2 separate regions of the Homo sapiens genome follow, and region 1 is linked to region 2. Evidence: promoter capture Hi-C in 16 types of primary human blood cells and fetal thymus (Javierre and others, 2016). All regions are on one chromosome and are shown on one strand. The core of a region is centred on a gene start or on the middle of the fragment in contact, and the rest is flanking DNA. Distances in the headings are between cores, read along the strand shown.

What was found. Contacts are between HindIII fragments. The CHiCAGO score rates a contact against its expected background, and 5 or more counts as called.
Region 1: a fragment that was not itself captured here is called in contact with the fragment with the promoter of CBFB in region 2 in 1 of 17 cell types (erythroblasts); the score reaches 5.4 in erythroblasts.

The regions. Positions count from the first base shown.
Region 1 is chr16:67,364,994-67,370,368 of GRCh38, reverse strand. It overlaps LRRC36 (leucine rich repeat containing 36), which reads right to left. Exons shown (of 14, transcript NM_018296.6): 7 at 5,014-5,065; 8 at 2,912-3,352. Among named protein-coding and RNA genes, the nearest start is that of TPPP3, 26 kb to the left of the region's middle. The HindIII fragment of the contact is 947 bases long and covers 1,977-2,923 here.
Region 2 is chr16:67,027,439-67,032,829 of GRCh38, reverse strand. It overlaps CBFB (core-binding factor subunit beta), which reads right to left and starts at 3,681. Exons shown (of 6, transcript NM_022845.3): 1 at 3,345-3,681; 2 at 3,017-3,103. The coding sequence starts at 3,422. RefSeq lists silencers at 2,899-2,948, 3,199-3,438, 3,529-3,718 and an enhancer at 4,279-4,418. The HindIII fragment of the contact is 7,418 bases long and covers 2,487-5,391 here.

The DNA.
Region 1 (5,375 bases), core at 1,201-3,700, 340 kb before region 2:
TGCCCGGCATCTCCTAATATAATACTCTGGCCAATTTACTCTTCTATTCTCTGAGACAAATATTTCACATCTCTCTTCAAACTTCCAACACCTTCTCTTCCCTCCTTACACCCAGGTGCCAACCTCCTTTATTTCCCTGAGAGGCAATCAAAGAAAACATCTACATGATCACACCATCAAATCTACCAACTCTCCTGTATCTGTATTAATAAATTCTCTGCCTTCCTTCTTATTACAATAGATGAACTATCTGTGCTTTTATTTAAAACCAGCCTCTCCACTGGTGGACTGGATTCCATTTTCTTGTAACGGTCCCTTTTCTCCCTGGCATCATCAGTTTTCCCTCTACTAGATCACTTCTACCAGGATCTCCTTGACCCCATCCCTTCTCCAGCTAGTTCCATTTCTCTGCTTCCCTTTACTGCAAAACTCCTTGAAGGGGTTGATATGGGTTGGCTGTGTCCCCACCCAAATCTCATCTTGAATTGTAGCTCCCATAATTCCCACATGACATGGGAGGGACCTGGTGGGAAGTAACTGAATTATGGGGGCGGGTCTTTCCCATGCTGTTCTTGGTGATAGTAAGTCTCACGAGATCTGATGGTTTTATAAAGGGGAGTTCCCCTACACAAGCTCTCTTGCCTGCCACCATGTAAGACGTGACTTTGCTCCTCATTCACCTTCCACCATGATTGTGAGGCCTCCCCAGCCATGTGGAACTGTGAGTCAATTAAACCTCTTTCCTTTATAAATTACCCTGTCTTGGGTATGTCTTTATTAGCAGTGTGAGAACAGACTAATACAAGGGTTGTCTATATTCAGTAACTTTACTGCCTTGCTTCCAATTTTTTTCTTGAATTCACCTCAGTGAGGCTTTCATTCTCATGCATCCCCTGAAGCTGTTCATTAATGTCTTCTTCATTGCCAAATACCATAATCACTTCTCAGTCCCAGGCTCCCTCCCTCCCTATCAGGAGAAGCATTTGACCTAGCATTGATCACTCCCTCCTTCTTGAAACACATTCTTCACTTGGCTTCCAGGATATTACTTCCTCTTGGCTTTTTCCCCTCTATCTTACTGGCTGCTGCTTTCTCACTCTCCATGATGGTTTCTCTTTATCTACTTCTAATTGTTGGAGGGCTCAGGACCAGTCCTCAGATCTCTTTTCTATCTATATTCACTCTTTTGGTGAGATTTCATCCAGTCTCAGAGTTTTACTGTCACCCATACACTTATAATCTCCAAATTTATATTTCCAGCCATACCTTCTTCCCTAAACTCTGGACTAGTATGTCCAATTACCAAATTGGCATCTCTGGAAAGTTTTAATAAGGCACCTGAAACTTAAGATGTCCAAAACCCAACTCTTGATATTTATCTTAAAATCTCTACCTCCCATTCTTTTCCATCTTAGTAAATGAAAGCTCTGTTCTTCTAGTTATTCAGACTCAAAACCACAGAATTACCATTGACCCTCTTTCTCCCACACTTTATCCTGGATCCATCAGCAAACCATGGAGTGTCATCTTCAGAACATATTCAGAATCTGACTACTTCTCACCACCTCCACCGCTATCTGTCTAGCCCAAGCCATCATCATCTGTTACGCTGATTCCAATCTCTCCAAAGCATTTTAAAAAAATTTCTACCCTCCTCCCCATAGTCTATTCTCAGCCCAACATTCACAGTAATTCTTAAGTGAGATCACATCACTCCCTTGCTACAAACTCTCCAACTCCTTCTGATCTCACCCAGAAAAAAGTCTGGCATCTTTCTTACTTCATCTATACACTCTACTTTCTTTGCTGAGGCCGCACTGGCCTCCCTGAGGTTCCTTGTACATGAAAAGTATGTTCCAGCCTCAGGACTTTTGCATTTATTCCCACTGTCTAGAAAGTTCTCCTCCCAGACCCACATGGCTTATACTCCCACTTCATTCAAGTCTCTACTTTTATGGTGCCTCATCAGAGAAGCTTTCTGGACCATTCTATCTAAAGCATCGCCTCCTCCTTATCACGCTCTATGCCCTTATATAATTTTTTCACAGCATTTACCATAACCTGACATATATTTGCATGCTAAAATGTTTATCATGTGTCTTACCCCATGAGAATGTAAGCTCTATGAAAGTAGGGACTGTCTTCTTATTATGGTAAAATATACATGGAACTTTATTTTGGTTGCTACTTTATCTCCAGAGCTAGAACAGTGTCTGGGACACTGTAGGTGTTCAATGAGTTTGGTTGAATAAATAAGTAACAGAAGAGTGATCTCTGTCACTAACTCTGAAACTAACTTCTGTTTTTGTTTTCAAGATGGAGTCTTGCTCTGTTGCCCATGGAGTGCAGTGGCCCGATCTTGGCTTACTGCAACCTCTGCCTCCCAGGTTCAAGCAATTCTCCTGCCTCTCAGCCTCCTGAGTAGCTGGGATTACAGGCGCATGCCACCATGCTCAGCTATTTTGTGTGTGTGTATTTTTGGTAGAGACGGGGTTTCACCATGTTGGCCAGGCTGGTGTCGAACTCCTGACCTCGTGATCCACCCGGCTCAGCCTCCCAAAGTGCTGGGATTACAGGCATGAGCCACCGTGCCCAGCCTGAAACTAACTTCTTCTGAAAGTAAGTCAGAATAGAAGTGACTGTGAGTAAAGACTAGATGTCCTGGGATGCTGCTTAACTAAAATAGCAAGTAGCTGCAATGCTCACTTTCCTACAAATTTTCCCTAATATATATATCATGTTAAACTCATACCCTACAGATTTCTCGAGGTTCCAAGAACCACTGGTGACCCTAAAATACAACTTAAGAAATGCTAATACAATTTCAGAAGGGTTAATTCCAAAATTTTCACTTATATCTTCTATCTTCATGCCTATGAAGAAGACCTGTAAACTGACAGGAAGCTGTTACCTGAACTAAGCTTCAAAAGCCTTCCAGTGCTGGAGTCAGGGTTTGACAGAGAAGTTAATAAGTCTCCACAGGAATGTGAAGCGGTGGTCTTTATGTCATTTGAAGGCTTTATGCTATACTCTTGATAGTTCTTGCTTCTCTGAGGCCTTTTACCAAGACTTCCATGCAGGGATAGAGTTTGAGAATAACAACTGTCATAATTTTCCAGACCAACATCTGAAGGTAACTGATAGGGATGGATCTGGCTAGAATCACCCACATCCAGGCATTTACTCAATGAGGCATCATGGGTAAGATGAAAAGTATCAGGTTTTGGTATCAATTCCTTTTCTGGAGAAGAACCTGAAGACTTATTGTCCAAAAAAGATACTTGGTACCCTTCTCTAGTCATCTTCTCTGGGGATCGGACTGTGGACTGACGAGGCGAGTAGTGTCTGAACTCTAAACACCACCAAGGCAAAAAAACAAAACATGATAAGAATTCTTTGTGGCCTAGCTGGGAGTACCTCTGTTCACTGAACATATTCTCTGTCTGCCAGAAACACCTCTCAGGAAGAGGTGGTTTATAATTCTGATCAATGGTAGCATAAAGTGATGAAAGGACTTCCACATGGAACACCACCACCACCAATAAAATGTGGGACTTTTGTGTAAACAGTAAAGAATCTATAACATTCTGGAGACAAATTCTGTTTCTTTTTTTTTTTTGAGACAGGGTCTCACTCTGTCGCCCAGGCTGGAGTGCAGTGGCGCAATCTCAGCTCAGTGCAACCTTCGCTTCCCAGAGGGAAGCGATTCTCGTACCTCAGCCTCCCGAATAACTGGGATTACAGGCACATGCCACCATGCCCAGCTAGCTTTTGTATTTTTAGTAGAGATGGGGTTTCACCGTGTTGGCCAGGCTGGTCTCCAACTCCTGACCTCAAGTGATCCACCCGCCTCGGCCTCCCAAAGTGCTGAGATTATAGGCAAGCACCACCATGCCCGGCTAATTTTTGTATTTTTTGTAGAGATGGAGTTTCACCATGTTGGCCATGCTGGTCTCAAACTCCTGACCTCAGGTGATCCACCTGCCTCGGACTCCCAAAATGCTGGGATTACAGGCATGAGCCACTGTGCCTGGTCCGAAAAAAATTTTTTTAATTAGCCAGGTGTGGTGGTAGTCCTAACTACTTGGGAGGCTGAGGTGGGAGGATTGCTTGAGCCCAGAAGTTTGAGGTTATTATGAGCTCTGATTGTGCCACTGTACTGTACTCCAGCCTGGGCAACAGATTGAGAACTTGTCTCAAAAATAAAAAAAATTAAAAAAAAAGAGAGAAGGAAGTGGGAAGAGAGAGAGAGAACGAACTGCCTAGAAATCTACACCCATCTAAAATACCCTTCAAGAATGATAGTGAAATAGAGGCATTATCACACAAAGAAAAGCTGAAAGAGCTCATCACTAATAGACCTACATTAAAGTATGTGCCACTGTAAGGCAAAGGAAAATGATATCAGAAGGGAAGCCTGGGAAGAAAAAGGAAGTGAACAAACAGTAGTAAATTAATGGATAGATTTAAATCTACACTGACTATATAAAAAATAATATCTTGTGAAGTCTTTAAAAATATAGAGAATTAAAATTCATAATAACAACATATAAGTCAGGAAAGAGTAAATGAAATAAAGTACTGTACGGTTTTTGAATTATCCAAAAGAAGACTTAAGGTATTAACAATTTAAAAATTATGTAAGTTAAGGATACATATTATCATTTGGGGAATAATACTAAAAGTATAGAAAATGTATATAACTTATAAACCAGTAGAGAGAAACAAATGGATGAATAAAAAATAATAAATACAAAAGAAGGCAAGAAAGGTAACAAAAAGAATAGTCATCCAACGCAAAAAAAATCAAGAACAAAGGAGGTCAGAATATGCACTCTTTAAGCAGAAAAGTCTCACAGGTTACTAATCATCCAGGACAGTCCCTCACAAAAGCAGAAATTAGTTGACTAAATAGGGCCCCCATATTGAGACATCTTCATCTCCCAAATCCCATCACATCCAGACTTCTCTGATTAGTGTGGGGGAAAAATACTCAGTGAGCAAAATATTTACCATCTTCCTGGTGATTGTCACTTGGCATCTCCCTTCTTGCTACTTCCTGTGTCTAAAAAAAGTTCGAAAGTTTAGGTAGAAGGAAGTCCATGCGCGTTCAAATGTGAGCTTATTAGACTAGGGGTTCAGAATACCTTCCTATTAATGGGAAAGACTATCCTTGCAAGCTAGGGAAACAGACCTTTAAGCAAAGGTCCAGTTTAAGTCTATTTTAAAACAGTCACAATACAAGGAGATTCCAGAGTTGCTTGAATATCCTTAGGAAGTAAAGGACATAGCAAACAATGACTGTACTTTCTCTGCCTTAGATAGCTCATAGAAGGTAGATGAGGGCCACTTTCCAGCTTTGCTTTTTCTGTTTA
Region 2 (5,391 bases), core at 2,432-4,931:
AGGTTGGGAATAGTTTTGAGAACTATGGATATCCTTGCCATTTATGGCTGCTGTCAAAACAGGCAAAATAATGCCTTTTTCCACAGCCAAATAGGAAGAAACCCAGCCTGTTCATAAGTCATGAGATAAATTTCAGGCATTAAATTAAGCAGCCTCTAAATTCAAATAATCAAGTACCTCTGATATAAAAGGTATTGTGAAAAATAGCTGTATCCAGAGGGGTTTATACAAAATTAATGAGGTCTCTACCCTCTAGGAGCTAAGGATCCTGTAATTAAATGTGGGTTAACACTGAATTAAAGGAGGGAAACTAGAAAGAGAGAAAACTAGGAAACGTGAAATTCCTCTCCAAATACCAATAGTTACATTATTTAACAAAATAAGACATGAGCCGTCTTAAGTGCAAACCTCACACAGCATTCAATCTACCTTCTTTAACCTTTAATACTTCTCAGAAATTTAAAACTTGTAAAATGTGTCGAATCAGATACTTGTTTTATTTTTGGAGACCGGGTCTCACTCTGTCACCCAGGCTGGAGTGCAGTGGTACGATCATGGCTAACTGCAGCCTCGACCTCCCGGGCTCAGGTGAGGATCAGATTATTTGGAAGCGGGGAAGGTCTAGAATGTCTAATTCATCCTGGAAATAAATTCATGACAAACACTAACCACCTGTACTACTACTATAATATTACAGCATTTCAGATATCCTATGGGTTGAATTCATAATTCCATTCAGCAAAGTCTGAGATGACAGAAAACACCCTACTAGCTATGATTCACCAAATTTCCAAAAAAATTCAGCTTTCAAAGATAGTGATGATAATACAACACATGGGGCTGCGTATGGTGACGCCGAGCCTGTAGTCCCAGCTATTGGGAGGCTGAGGCAAGAGGATCGCTTGAGCCCAGAAGTTTGAGGCTGTAGTGCCTCATGATTGTGCCTGTGAACAGCCACTGCACCCCAGCCTAGGCCACACAGCAAGACCTCTCTCTTAAAAAAAAAAAACGAAACAAGACCAGACGCGGTGGCTCACACCTGTAATCCCAGCACTTTGGAAGGCCGAGGTGGGAGGATTACTTAAGGTCAGGAGTTCAAAACAAGCCTGGCCAAGATGGTGAAACCCCGTCTCTACTAAAAATACAAAAAAATTAGCCGGGCGTGGTGGTGTGTGCCTGTAATCCCAGCTACTCAGGAGGCTGAGGCAGGAGAATCGCTTTAACCCAGGAGGCGAAGGTTGCAGCGAGCCAAGATCATGCTGCTGTGCTTCCAGCCTGGGTAACAGAGCGAGACTCCGTCTCAAAACAAAAAAGCAAACAGTGAGAGTACAAGTACTTTGTAACTTATCTTTTATACTTGCATCCTTTACCTCCAGGAAATTCTATCGTCAGGTATACCACCTTCCCTTTGCAAAAGGTAACCCAGGCAAAGGATGACACGATCATCGCACCAGCTAATGAATTCTTTTATTATACCACTCAGTGCCAAAACCTAAAAGTATGTCTTATGCACTTCAATCATATAAATACTACAATTACTCAAGAAATTTGCAAGTGGGCTAAAAGCTTGAGACTCTCTTTCATAACATGCACTAATGACCAAATATTCAGGAGCTCCTGATAAATTTAACCAGTATCTTCTCACTATTACAACTCTAAAAAGCTTTCACTTAAAATATCAAAATATTCTTTAAAAATAAATTTGAGTTCAGTGATGTAAAGGGAGAATTTTATGACATATGAATTATATCTGAATAAAAATAAACTGGTTTTATAAAGGGGGTGGGAGAAGTAAATTTCCAATGTCTTCCTACTGTTAACCCAAATTCAAATCGCACCTAGCTTCAAGCCTCTAACAATGCAGTGAGTCCAAGTCACCGAGCAGAGAGTAACAGCATTCCATTAGACAGTGCTTCAACTTTTTAAAAAATAATCAGGCCAGACGCAGTGGCTCACGCCTGTAATCCCAGCACTCTGGGAGGTCGAGGAGGGCGGATCACTTGAGGTCAGGAGGCCAGCTTGGCCAACAAGGTGAAACCCCGTCTCTACTAAAAATGCAAAAATTAGCCGGGCGTGGTGGCAGGCACCTGTAATCCTAGCTACTCAGGAGGCTGAGGCAGGAAAATCGCTTGAACCCAGGAGGCGAAGGTTGCAGTGACCCGAGATCGAGCCACTGTACTCCAGCCTGGGCAACAGAGCAAGACTCTACCTCAAAAAAATAGTAATAATCAACCTCTTTTCTTGGTTTCTTCCTACCACTCCCTCCTCATCAGCACCTCCAACAAGGCAAACCAAAAAGATGAGAGGAACTAGGACCCTTGGATTTTTTTTTTCAACCCAAGGTCTGGTGAAGACGCACTAAATCTGCCTCCTAAAACAAGGACCTCGAGATCAACCGTGGGTTTTGCCCATCTGTGCAGTTTTTAGGAACAGCAGCCCTACTCAGGACATGGGGATAATGGTTTCTTTCTGATTCTCCTGAAGCTTAACATTCTAAGAAAATGACATTTTTAGGGCCTTTTCCCCCCCCTCCCCTCTCTATTAGAATAAATAACTGGAGGAAAGATTTCTACTCGGCGATCTGGTAGTGAGACCGCTTGACACAGAGAATTACCGACAGATCTACCTTCTAAGAAACAAACTATCGCCGACCTTGAATGAAGCTCCACTTCTTTTTCCGAATGGGGGTTTGCTTGCTACAAATACCCTGAACCCTTCTTCGGTGTCGCCGCCTAAACAATGCCCTTCGCTTGTTTAGTCTGGCTCGGGTTCGAGCTCCACTCGCGGTGCTCCGTTGGCCGACACGCGCCACCGCGGCGAGCCCCAGGAAAAGCGTCTCCCCGCGAGTACCGGCCCGCGGCATCTGGTTTCGCATTTTGAATCCCGAGTAGGAAGTGAGACGGCGCCCACTCAGTTCCGGGAGCCGCAGCAGCCGCGCCGCCGTCCGGAACCGGCCTGGGCCGCCGCGGCCCCGCGCAACAAGTGACCCGCGCGCGCCCCGGGCCAGCCGACTTACGATTTCCGAGCGGCCGTCGCGGCAGGCGTTCTGGAAGCGTGCCTGGCGTTCCTCGTGGGGCCGGTCCCTGAAGCCCGTGTACTTAATCTGCAAGGCAAGACGGCCCGAAATCAGGAGCCAAATCCGCGGCGCCGCCCGCGCGCCCGCCCTCCCAGCGCAGCGCCGATAAGGGCAAGCAGAGGCTGCGGGCGATGGCCGCCCCGGCGAGATTGCCCCTCCGCGGGCGCACCGACCGGGACTCCCGGGGACCGTGCCGCCCAAACTTTTCTCCGCCCGGGCCCACTCGGGGCGCGCTGCGGCCTCCTAGCCGCCCGCCCGCCTGCCTCACCTCACACTCGCGGCTCAGCTTCCTAAAAAACTCCTCGTTCTCGAACTTGCTTCTCTGGTCGGGCACGACGCGCGGCATCTTCCCGCCCTGAGGCCGCGCCGGCCGGCCGCGCTCGGGGCTTGCGCGGGCACCCGCTGGCTGGCTCCGCGCTGACCGACTGACCGCCCACCCGCGGCGCCCGGACGCCCGCTTCCCTTTGTTTCAGGCGCCCGCCCGCGTGGGCTCCCGTTCCGGGGAGTCTGAGGCGCCGCCGCCCGCTCGAGCCCAACCCACGCCGCCGCCGCCGCCGCCGCCGCCTCAGCCGTTGCCTGCCGCCCGCGCAGCCCCAGCGCTCACCGCCCCCGGCCGCCGCCGCCGCCGCCGCCGCCACTTCCTCTCACCGCCCACCCCGCCCCCGCCGGCCCCACCCCTCCTCCTCGCGCGCCCGCCCGCCTCCAACTCCGGCAAACAAGACGCACCATTCACAACTCCGCGGCCCACGCCGCGCATGCGCCACCCGCCCGCTGGCGGAGCGGCCTGGCTGTGGCGCCCCGGGGCTCCTTCCGCATCAGGGCCCTTTTCCCCCTGCTCGCCCGCGGCCACTCGGCGTGGAGCTGTCGTTGGGGGATCCGCCTGGCCTTTAGCAGACGGGAGTAGCCAGCGCAGGCCTTTTCTACCGCCCTTCCTCGGTCATCTGGAACTTCTGGGTTCCCCAGGTGCGCGGAGTAACCCCAGATTGTCACTTGAACGCGAGGAAACCTAAGTCCTTGGGGACTTTTCGTCCCTAAACCGACCGGCAGGGGTGTAGGCTCTGCACGTTGAAGACTGAGGTGGAAACGGACCAAAGAATCCAACCGAGTCATGGTGGAAAGGTCGTGGCTTTTGGAGTCAGATGGGTCTTAGATGGGATCCCACTCAGCTACACTACCTGCTGGCTGGGGCCTTAGATAAGAATTGGACCACTAAACCTCAGTTTCCTTATTTCCAAAATGCAGACACTCCTAGGTTTGCAGTGTTAGCGTGAGAACCTTTATGTGGGTCTAGCACACAGTGGGAGCCCAATAAATTTAAGTTTCTAAAGAAGAACAAGCTGAGTTAAGAATGTAACCGATTGCCAGTCCATATACTTACTCAATGTGCAATCAGCTGCAAAAAATAAGATCCATAAATTCTAGGGAAGTTGTTTAGCCCAAACTGGAGAAAGTCTGACATGGGATTTATGGCAGAGTTTGATTCAAAGTTAGTCCTGTGGCCGGGCACTGTAGCTCATACCCGTAATCCCAGCCCTCTTTTTTTTTTTTTTTTTTTTTTTTTTTTAAACAGAGCCTCGCTCTGTCGCCCAGGCTGGAGTGCAATGGCGCGATCTCGGCTCACTGCAACCTCCGCCTCCTGGGTTCAAGTGATTCTTCTGCCTCTGTCTCCCGAGTATTTGGAATTACAGGCACCCACCACCACGCCCAGCTAATTTTTTTGTATTTTTAGTAGAGACGGGGTTTCGCCATGTTGGTCAGGCTGGTCTCGAACTCCTGACCTCAGGTGATCTGCCCGCCTCGGCCTCCCAAAGTACTGGGATTACAGGCATGAGCCACTGCGCCTGGCCTAATCCCAGCACTTTGGGAGGCCGAGGCAGGCTGATCACCTGAGATCAGGAGCTCGAGGCCGGTCTGGTCAACATGGCAAAACCCCATCTCTACTAAAGTACAAAAATTAGCGGGGTGTGGTGGCACACGCCTGTAGTCTCAGCTACTCGGGAGGCTGAGGCAGGAGAATCGCTTGAACCTGGGAGGCGGAGGTTGTAGTGAGCCAAGACGGTGCCACTGCACTGCAGCCTGGGCCACAGAGCAAGACTCCGTCTCAAACAGCTACTCGGAAGCTGAGGCAGGAGAATTGGTTGAACCTGGGAGGCAGAGGTTGCGGTGAGCCAAGATCGTGCCATTGCACCCCAGCCTGGGGAACAAGAGCATAACTCCGTCTCGGGGGGAAAAAAAATCCATGAGGAAGCACTCTTGCTCCACAATGGGTCCAAGGAGGGCTCACAGACCTCCAAGTTGATCTTGGCCAAAGACTC